3 separate regions of the Homo sapiens genome follow, and all the other regions are linked to region 2. The links are contacts of gene promoters, found by promoter capture Hi-C in blood cells and fetal thymus (Javierre and others, 2016). All regions are on one chromosome and are shown on one strand. The core of a region is centred on a gene start or on the middle of the fragment in contact, and the rest is flanking DNA. Distances in the headings are between cores, read along the strand shown. Region 1 holds the start of ACTR5 (actin related protein 5). Region 2 holds the start of PLCG1 (phospholipase C gamma 1). Region 3 overlaps PPP1R16B (protein phosphatase 1 regulatory subunit 16B).

Region 1 (3,297 bases), core at 147-2,646, 2.4 Mb after region 2:
TTTACTTGAAAATACGAAAGTAGAGTCAATTTAAGTTATTAAGTCAAGGTCCCATCCAAACTGTCAGCAAATCGTGTTGGCTCTATCTTCAAAGTATTTCCAGAATCCAACTGCTTCTAATGACATTCCCTGCTATCTGCCTCATCTAAGCCACCATCATCCCTTACCTGGGTTATTCCAACAGCCTCCTAACTCGTCCCTGTTTCCACCCTATGATCCAAGACAATTCATTCTCCATACAGCAGTAATAGTGATCCTTTTAAAACACAAGTCAGGTCCTTCTTCAGCTCAACACCCTGCCATGGCTCCCCATTTCACTCAGTAAAAGCCTATAAGGTGTGTGATCTGCCTCTCCACTACCTCTCTGACATCCTCTTTCAGGTACTACTCTCCCCCTCACACAGGCAGCCTTGCAGTTAGGATTAGGGCACACTCCTGCCTCGGGGCCTTTTTACTGGCTGCTCCCTCTGCCTGGACCGTTTTTCCTTCAGATATTCACATGGCTTGCTACCTGAATCACCTCCTTCAAGTCCTTGCTCAAACATCACCTTCACGAGTCCTACCCTGACCATCTTACTGAAAAAATGTAACTCCCTCCTCTCCTATCACGGCGTAGAATCTACTATTTCTATGTTTACTGTCTGCCTTTTCATACTAGAATATCTTTCCATAGTATTAACAGCTCCATAAGCACAGGAAGTTTTGTGTTCACACATGTACTCCAAATGCCTAAAAAGTGCCTGACACAGAGTAAGTGCTCAATACGTATTTGTTAATAAATGGGCTTCTTAACAAACAAGCATATATGCCCAAAGGTATGCTCCAAGATACAAGGAGCAGCATTTTATTCGCTGCTACACCCACAGCGCCTAGCATCTGGTCGACTAAAAGACAATCGGAGCTACTGAAGTGACTGTTACCTCTCCGAGAGCAGAGTGAGCGGAGACGAGACCGCACCCCTCCCCTCAAACCCAGCCCAGCCCAGCCTACTCCGCCCTTCACCTGTGAGGAGACACCCAGGTGCTGGAAGCTGTAGTCCAGCAGCAACTCCTGAAGCTCCAGGTTGACCGGCACGTTGCGGTCGAAGGGCGAGCGCAGCATCCAGCGCAGTGGCTCCAGGCTGCCCAGAGCGTTCCCCACCTGCGGGCCCGACGCGCCCCGTGCCCCGCCACGACCGCGGGCGCACACCGCGCGGAACTGCAGGCGCGGCTCGGGACCTGGGTCCTGCCCGGGACACGCCCAGCCAGCGCGGACTTGGAACGACCCGTTGTCCAGCACCAGCGGTACCGGCAGTGGCCCGTGTGCCACCGGGCCGGCCTCCAGCACTGGGTCCGGTGCGGCACGGGCGTCGCGGAACGGGAACACGTTCGCCGCCATCTTGGAGCGCGCGTCCAGCCCCGCCCCTCGGCGCAGTGTCCGCCCAGACGCCGCGAAACCGCGCCCCCGACGTCACGCCGCGCGATTCAGGCCTTTAAGTACCTCGATGCCCCCTCCCTTCTCGAAGCCCGGCCAGCCTTTCCACTTGACTCGCCTCTGGCTGTCAAGGCTGCTTTCAGGATCGCTGAGACGTACCCATTCTGGCTGCGAAATTCTACGTTTCTTAACCTCTCCCCCAATAGCCTATGAGTGCCCACGCCCCTTCACTCTAGCCGGGACGCCCGGTTTGGAAGCCCCGCCCCAAAGCCTATCGCCGCCAGGCCCCGCCCCTTTCTGGCTGCCAGCTTCAGCGCCGCGCTCGGTGGAGCCCCGCCTCTCTGCCTGGCCACGCCCCATTGCCGGGCGCGCACCGTCGGCCGGGCGCGCACCGTCGGCCGGGCGCGCACCTTCGACCGCCGGCGGCCCCGCCTCCGCGTGGCTGTCTCGCCCTCAGTCTTGCGTCCTGGCTAGAAGGGTCCTTTATCTTTTGACGCTTCCTTTACGTTAAGAAATCTCAAACTCTGCCGACTGTTCAATTTCTTGACTAGGGAGCTGACTACTCAGTTCTGTTCACTTTACTAACTCGCACAGACTGTGTCTTCTCACTAAGACACAGTGTTTTCTCAAACCCTGAGAAAAGACTGCTGATTGTTCCCCAAGCATTCCCTCTCTTTTAGTGGCATCACCTCCCACTCCCACGTGGCCATCCGTCTGGCTGCGATCTAGATGCGCTCATGTGACTAAATTCTGGCCAGGAGCGGGTGGGAGAGGAGGCCATGTGTGTGACCCACTCAGTTTTAGCCCTAAAAGCACTCGTCGCGCTCTATCCTGTCGCATTTCCATCTTTTCACTAGCTAAGGGGGTAAGAATTAGAGCAGTTGTTTTACTACAACCTTTTTTTGTGCAGTGGGGCGATCTCGGCTCACTGCAGCCTCGACTTCCTGGACTCAAGTGATTCTCCCGCCTCAGCCTCCTAAGTAGCTGAGATTACAGGCGTGCACCACCACGCCCAGCTAATTTTTATATTTTTAGTAGAGAAGGGATTTCACTATGTTGCCCATGCTGGCCATAACCATTTTGAAAGAAGAAAAAGAATAGAGCAGCTGCCTTGAATCTACTCTACCAGGTCTATAACACTTCAGTTTGAGAGATAAAATCAAATTAGTTACAAAAGATATTGTAAGCGAGAAATGAAACTCCTAACTTATCTCAAGAACCTCTATTAACAGTGTTTGTTGTTGTTGTTGTTTGTTTTTTTTAAGACGGAGTCTGGCTCTGTCACCCAGGCTGGAGTGCAGTGGTGTGATCTTGGCTCACTGCAACCTCCACATCCCCGGTTCAAGCAATTCACCTGCCTCAGCCTCCCGAGTAGCTGGGATTACAGGCATGCTCCACAACACCCAGCTAATTTTTTTTATTTTTAATACAGACGGGATTTCGCCACGTTGGCCAGGCTGGTCTCGAACTCCTTGGCTCAAGTGATCCGCCTGCCTCGGCCTCCCAAAGTGCTGGGATTACAGGCTTGAGACGACGGGCCCAGCCTGTTAACACACCTAAACCAGATTGGGAGCCAGCCCAGTGGCAAAAATCAGGTTGTGTTGTCTTTCAACACACGTCCATTGTTCAGATATCTGAAGTAACCATCGTTAAGTTAATTAAGAGGGGGACCAGCAGAACACAGAAACCAGTAAATGTAAGTTAGTGAATGTTAATTTAAGAATTGTGTCTATGTATATTAATATGAAAAAGCACTGGCTGGGCGCAGTGGCTCACACCTGTAATCCCAGCACTTTGGGAGGCCGAGGCTGGTGGATCGCCTGAGGTCGGGAGTTCGAGACCAGCCTGGCCAACATGGTGAAACCCCGTCTCTAGTAAAAATAC
Region 2 (3,115 bases), core at 1-2,500:
CCCACTAGAGACCAGCGCAAAAGCAGCCAAGCTCAGGCCTGGGAAGGCGAAAAGGCAGGAAACTAAGAGAAGCCGCTCCCGCTCCCTGAAGCCACCGGACAGAGGACAAAGGGCTAGACTCACAAACTAGCTGCACTCCTGAGAAGAATACCTGACTCCAAGGCGCTGGGGCAGGCCTTTATGGGGCCCATCTCCTGGGAACGTGCTTCCCAGGGCAAGGGGAGTCCCTGCCCTGGCATTGAGTGTCTGCCCACCCACATAGGCCTCCAAAACCCAGCTTTGGGACAAAAGTAGCAGAAAAAAAAAAAAAAAAATTCCAGCCACTGGCTTCTCTCAGGCTTCTCCAAACCAAACAAGACCACCTTCCTCCCTCTCCCCCAGAGGGAGATGAGTAGGCCCAGCTCTGCTCCAAGACCAGCCCTACCCAACATCTGCCTAAGTTCTACTTAGGGAACCCAAAGATTCCTTTGCAAATAAGAGCCCAGCCTGGGGGCCCGGAGAGTTTCACAGACTGCTCTTTCTGGATAAAGAGTGGGCGGGGACCGTCTGGTCAGGCCCCAGGTTCCCGTGCAGGGTGGGGGCCACTGCCTTAGCTCCCCTCGCCGACGCCGCCACCACTCCCAGGGTCTGGGGGGCCCGATGCCTGCACCGCAGGTCTCCAGCCCGCGAGGATTTTTAGGCCTCAGGGCAAAGCGCCTGGAACACTCCCCCCAGCTGGGGGAGGGGGGGTGTCCTGTCAGGTGACCGAGGACCCGGATGCCCCCCGCCCCCAGTGACCACCCGAGACGAAGCGGGGGCGGGGCCCGGAGGGAGTCTGGGAGGGCCCGAAAGTTTGCCCAAGTCGCTGGGGCGGCCGGCCGGGGTGCAAGCAGTCGGGCCGGGCTCCCACGACCCCCGCGCGGGGCGGGCCCAGGCAGGAAGTGGGCGCACTTACTGGCCCCCTCGATCTTGTCGGCGCCCCGGCTCCACGTGATCTGGCGCGTCTCCAGCTTGACCTGGAAGGTCTTCCGCTCGGGTCGCTGCGACTTCTTGGAGTAGAACAAAGTCATGACGGTGCCCACCTCGAGGCTGCGGCAGAGGTGCAGCACCTCGGCGTCCGAGGGCGCGCCGGGCCCGCAGCCGTTGGCGCAAGGGGACGCGGCGCCCGCCATGGCTCCGACGCTGGGGGCGGCGGCGGCACAGGCCAGGACCGCCCGGGAGCAAGCGCAACGGCGGCGGCTGAGGTTGGGGCTGAGGCTGAGGCGGCAGACGAGCGGGACCCGGCGGCGGCTCCTGCAGGCGGACACGGGGCGGGGCCTCAGCGCGGCGGGGCGGGGCTGCCCTGAGGCCCCACCCCGCTTCGGCGCCGGGAACAAAGGCGCCCGCGCACCCGTGGGGAGGACCCCCGCCCGTCGGCCCGCCGCGCCTGCGCCCCGCGACCCCCAGACAGGCCGCAGGCGGGGACGGAGGCGCGATGGCGGCGGGAGCGCGCGCCGTTCCCGGTCGACCCACCCAGCCCTCAGTCCCGCAGAGCTTTCTCACGCGGCCCCGGACACAGCCCGGCGGCCACGAGCGGCCCTGTCACGCACGGCAGCCCCGCCCACAGGCCGCAGGCCCGGCGGCCGGCGCGTCAGTCAGGCGTACTCGCACGGGCGGCCGCTACCCCGCGGTCCCGCACAGACGCAGCCCCCGCGTCCCGAACACCGCCCATGCAGCGACCGGGACGGGACGTGAGGGGATGGCGCGTCCTCCGGGAATGCCCGGCCAAACTCAGTTACCTGGGCGGGCTTCCCGGACAAGGGAGCCAGGACGGGCCGCCTCACACCGGCGGCGGCGGGTCCTCCGCGCGCCCTCTCCCGGGAGGGGCGGGGGCGGGGCTGCCTGCGGATTGGTCGCGGGCACTGATGGACAGCCGACATGTCCCGCCCCCCCGGCAGCGCGGGGCTGGTCCGCAGGCAGTTCTGGCGACGGCCAGACCCACGTCTGTCTGTTCCGCCCCTGCTGCCAGGGTGGCTTTCAGTGGTCCTCTCTTTCGGAGAGTTCCCCCCAAGCGTGAGCACCCCTTACAGGGGCGTTAGGTCCGCGGCCGCGCTGTCCAGTGGTCTGACCTGCAGCTCCCAGGGCCTTTGTGTCTGTCCCTCGCATGGGCCTCTGCACGCTCCGTCCCCACGCGACAGGACTCGAGTCCGATTCGGGGCTCCGACTCAGACCCTACCCCGCAGCGCCCTCCTGCAAATGCTCTCCTGAACTTTGGTTTTCCCCGCCTTGCTTTCTTCCTCCTCCTGTAGCCGCTGCCTCTCGATCTCAGAAGCTTCTCTTCCTCTGCACTCAGTGCTAGGCCAGATCCCAAGGCGACCTGACCTTTCCCCTGGCTTTGCCCAACAACACAGGCACCGGTGACTCCAAACCTGCATCTCCCCTACGTTCCAGGCCCCAGCATCCCACTGCATGTTCCACATCCCCCCCCCTTAGACAGCTCGCCTTCCCTCCCCAAACGATTCCTTCCACAGTCTTCACTTTCTCAGAACGCGGCGCTAAACTTCTCTAAGTTGGAAGGTCAAAAACCTTGCAGCTAACTTTGATTCCTCCCTTTGCCTCACCTCCAATCCATCAAGACCTTGTCACTCAGCCCACAAGCTGAAGGCCCCATCTCCTGTCACCCAGACTACTCACCTTGTTTGGTTTTGCCTGGATCTATCAGTTTGGTTTTGCCTGGATTTATCATGCTTTAAATCTTTAAAATGAAATTAAATCATGATCCCCTACATCCAGGCTAAAACCCTCCGTGAATTCCCATTGCACCTAAAATCCACACTCCCTGCTTGGCCTAGCAGGTTCTATATGACCTGCCCATCTCACCAGTTTCATCTCTCACAAGTGATCCTTCACTCTCCATTCTCCAGCCACAAGGCCTTTTTCTGGTTATGGAATATAATTCATACTCTTTGTCTTTCTGAAGCCATTCTTGAAACTCACCCCTGCAATCTATCTACCCTTGTCAGCACCGCCAAAATTGAGGACACCCACGGTCGCGGTGGAGCCTGTCTGACATGTTGAGCCAGGCAGTGGGTCGGCTGCCAGGCACAGCAGGACAACTTACTGCATTTCAGAGGTGAGAAGCCCAACAGAGCTTCCA
Region 3 (3,061 bases), core at 391-2,890, 2.3 Mb after region 2:
GGTGCCTTCCTTAGGTTCCAGTAGGTTCATTTCCTTGTCTCCTTCAGGCCCAGGGGGTGGGGTGGGGTGGGTAAGATCTCCCAACTTTTGCTATCCCAGGGTATTGTCCCATTCCTTGTTGACCCCCATAAACCAGTGGTTCTCAAAGTGGTCTCTAGACTCTTTCAGGGTATTAAAACATCAAAATAATTTTCACAGTAACACTAAGAAATTACTTGCATTTTCCACTGTGTTGACATTTGCACTGATGGTGTAAAAGCAATGGTGGGTAAAACTACTGTTGTTTTAACAGAATTAACTTAGTGGCACCAAGCTGTACTAGCAATCACCATCTTCATTGTTTTGTATGTGCAATCAAAAGAAAAAAATCAATACCAGTTTCCCTTAAAAATGTCCTTGATAAAGCAATAAAATGTATTAATTTTATGAAACCTTAATCCTTGAGTACATGTCCTTTTAATATTCCATGTGACAAAATGGGAAGTTCAAAAAAAGAATAATCATTGTCTCCAACTGCATTACTTGAGCCATTTTTTAAGCTGTGTGCTAAGCTAGTCTCTTCTCTCATGGAGCACTAGTTTTACTTAAAGGATGTCTAGCAAACAATGGTTATTCAGACTTGAGTATTTAACAGGCAGTGTTTTTTTTCCTAAAAAGGGCAAATGGATCTTCTCACAACTGACAGCATTTGTTACCAATGATAGAATTTGAACTTTTAAGCAAAAATCCAAATTTTAGAAAACTTTTATAGCTACCACGAACTTACAGTTTCCCAGTACCTGAATAATTGTATGGCAAGATTGTTATTGAAACTATACATTTTCTTATATTGTATAAAGCAATGTGTCAACATTTGGAAGATCTGTGTAACTCAGTGAACCAATATTTTCTAACAGATCCAATATATTACATTAAAAAAAAGTACACATGGGTAAAAGAACCATTCAAAATGCCAGACAGACCAATGGATTTTGATGTAAATTGATATGGCTTCAGATTCAGCACTGCAACTAACCTTTAAGAAACTACTACTTGTTGAGTTTAGATGTAGTATCAAAGAATATCCACAATATCTGAAAAAGCAATTAAAATATTTCCTCCCTTTTCCAACTACATAAGATTTTCTTTATTTACTTCAACCAAAATAACATATCACAACAGATTGAAGGCAGAAGCAGATAAGATACTCCAACTGTCTTCCATTAAGCCAGATCTTAAAAAGATTTGCAAAAATATAAAACAAGGCTACTCTCCTCATTGCTTTTTTTTTTGTTTTGAAAAATATAATTTTTCATAAAAATATTTATGTTAACATGTGGTGGTTTTAAAACATGTCCACAAATTCTCTCTTCAAAAGATGAAGCTTAATTCCCCACCCCTTGAGTGTGGGCTGGACCTAGTGAGTCATTTCTCATGAATAGAAGATGGTAGAAGTGATGGTACATGATTTCCAACACAAGGTCATAAAGGCATTGCGGATTCCTCTATCTCTTGGATCACTCACTCTGAAAAAAGCCACCTGCCATGCTGAGAGAACACTCGAGCTGTCCTATAGAGAGGGCCACATGGCAGGGAACTGAGGCCTCCTGCCAAGAGCCATGCCAGTGAGCCATCTTGGAAGTGGATTCTCCAGCCCCAGGTAAATCCTGAAGTGACTGCAACCTTATGAGATATCCTGAACGAGAACCACCCAGCTGAGCTGCTCTGGATCCCTGAGCCACAGAAATTGTGTGAGGCAGTATATGTTTATTGTTTTAAGCTGCTAAATTTTGAGTTCATCTGCTACGCAGAAGCAGATAGCCAACAGATAATGTGTTTATCATTCTGACTTAATGAATGAATAAATATTTAATGCCTCCGTTTAAATTTCGAATACAGTAAATATGGGTAGATAGAACCCAGCTAAACCAAAGCTTTTAGGAGTTCTCAGGTTTTAAGAATATAAAGGGCCTCTGAGACCAAAAAGTTTGAGGACCACTTCCCTAAACCCTTTACAAACTGCCCCTTTATCAAACTTTCCACAAATCACCCCATATAAAATCACCATTTGTTTCCTCCCAGGACGCTGCCTGACACAACAATACCAAAATATTATCAATGGTTGTTGCTGTTCAGGGGGAATATGGGTGATTTTATCTTCTTCTTAATGCTTCTTTTTTTCTGTACTTCTAAAAGTTTCTGTAACAATAACAGGGTTTTTTTTTTTTTAATAATTAGAAGAAAAGAAACTTCCCTTTTTAAAAGGACCAAAAGTGAAAGTCTGAGCTAGTTCCTGTAGATGAGCTGCTGGTTTAAGATGGTGGTGGCAAGGCCCAGGTGTCCAGCACTGTGCCTGGGGGTGGGGGAGGGGGTTGCAGGTGGCAGGGATGACTGAGCACCCCACCCACCTGACCCCAGTCAGAACAGCTCCTTCCTTTGTTTTACATATTGGGTTTCTGCATAATATCTCATTTAAAGAAAAGTTTCCACTGCTTAAAAAAGAGTTTGAAAACTTTTACAGTGAGAAAAATCATTAAATTTAATAAGAGTTAAATTTAGAGTACAGAAGAATCACTCAAACATTTTTTGAATGAGAATTTCCATAAAGAAAACCCTACACATTCTGAGAGAAAAACAGAAGTCTCTAACAACTTAACATACATTCAATGGTTTCAAGGGAGGCTGGGCTATTGTGGCCCTAGAAAGAAGTTATATCTGGGGCTAAAGAGTTTATCTTGGGGGCCCCAAATCAAAGGGCCCAAGATGCCAGCAGAAACACCAGGATGCCTAAGGCCAAAACAAACACAGATCAGTACAGCAACTGAGGGTTCTCTAGTTTTCTAGTGAAAACAAAAGCAGGAAGTACAGGACTGCCTGGTGGTTAAATACATGGGCTTCGGAGAAACTGATCTGGGTTTGAATCCTGGGATTGAGTCTGACACTTAAAACCTGTGAGACCTTGGCAGGTGACTTAGTCTCTCTGAGCTTCAAATTTCTCATCTGTAAAATGGGGGATGAGAATTCACACAGTGAAGCCATTTTCCAAGACAGTACAGCAGTTTCTTAAAAAGTTAAACATAAT

The links. The method cuts DNA at HindIII sites, captures the fragments that hold promoters and counts their contacts. A CHiCAGO score of 5 or more calls a contact.
Region 1: a contact is called between the fragment with the promoter of ACTR5 here and the fragment with the promoter of PLCG1 in region 2, in 1 of 17 cell types (endothelial precursors). The highest score is 5.9, in endothelial precursors.
Region 3: a fragment that was not itself captured here is called in contact with the fragment with the promoter of PLCG1 in region 2 in 1 of 17 cell types (fetal thymus); the score reaches 5.6 in fetal thymus.

What each region holds. Positions count from the first base shown.
Region 1 is chr20:38,746,559-38,749,855 of GRCh38, reverse strand. ACTR5 (actin related protein 5) reads right to left here and starts at 1,396. Exons shown (of 9, transcript NM_024855.4): 1 at 1,003-1,396. The coding sequence starts at 1,377. RefSeq lists silencers at 1,161-1,350, 1,651-1,920 and an enhancer at 1,299-1,800. The HindIII fragment of the contact is 9,906 bases long and covers 1-3,297 here.
Region 2 is chr20:41,135,678-41,138,792 of GRCh38, reverse strand. PLCG1 (phospholipase C gamma 1) reads right to left here and starts at 1,250. Exons shown (of 32, transcript NM_002660.3): 1 at 935-1,250. The coding sequence starts at 1,151. It overlaps LOC124904903 (translation initiation factor IF-2-like), which reads left to right and starts at 1,280. Exons shown (of 2, transcript XM_047440629.1): 1 at 1,280-3,091. The coding sequence starts at 1,454. The coding sequence ends at 2,035. It overlaps PLCG1-AS1 (PLCG1 antisense RNA 1), which reads left to right and starts at 793. Exons shown (of 7, transcript NR_109889.1): 1 at 793-1,079; 2 at 2,982-3,091. RefSeq lists enhancers at 133-212, 361-460, 382-1,166, 1,951-2,735 and silencers at 611-870, 991-1,980. The HindIII fragment of the contact is 8,103 bases long and covers 1-2,292 here.
Region 3 is chr20:38,841,978-38,845,038 of GRCh38, reverse strand. The region is part of intron 2 of PPP1R16B (protein phosphatase 1 regulatory subunit 16B); the gene reads right to left. Among named protein-coding and RNA genes, the nearest start is that of PPP1R16B, 38 kb to the right of the region's middle. RefSeq lists an enhancer at 2,167-2,276. The HindIII fragment of the contact is 550 bases long and covers 1,366-1,915 here.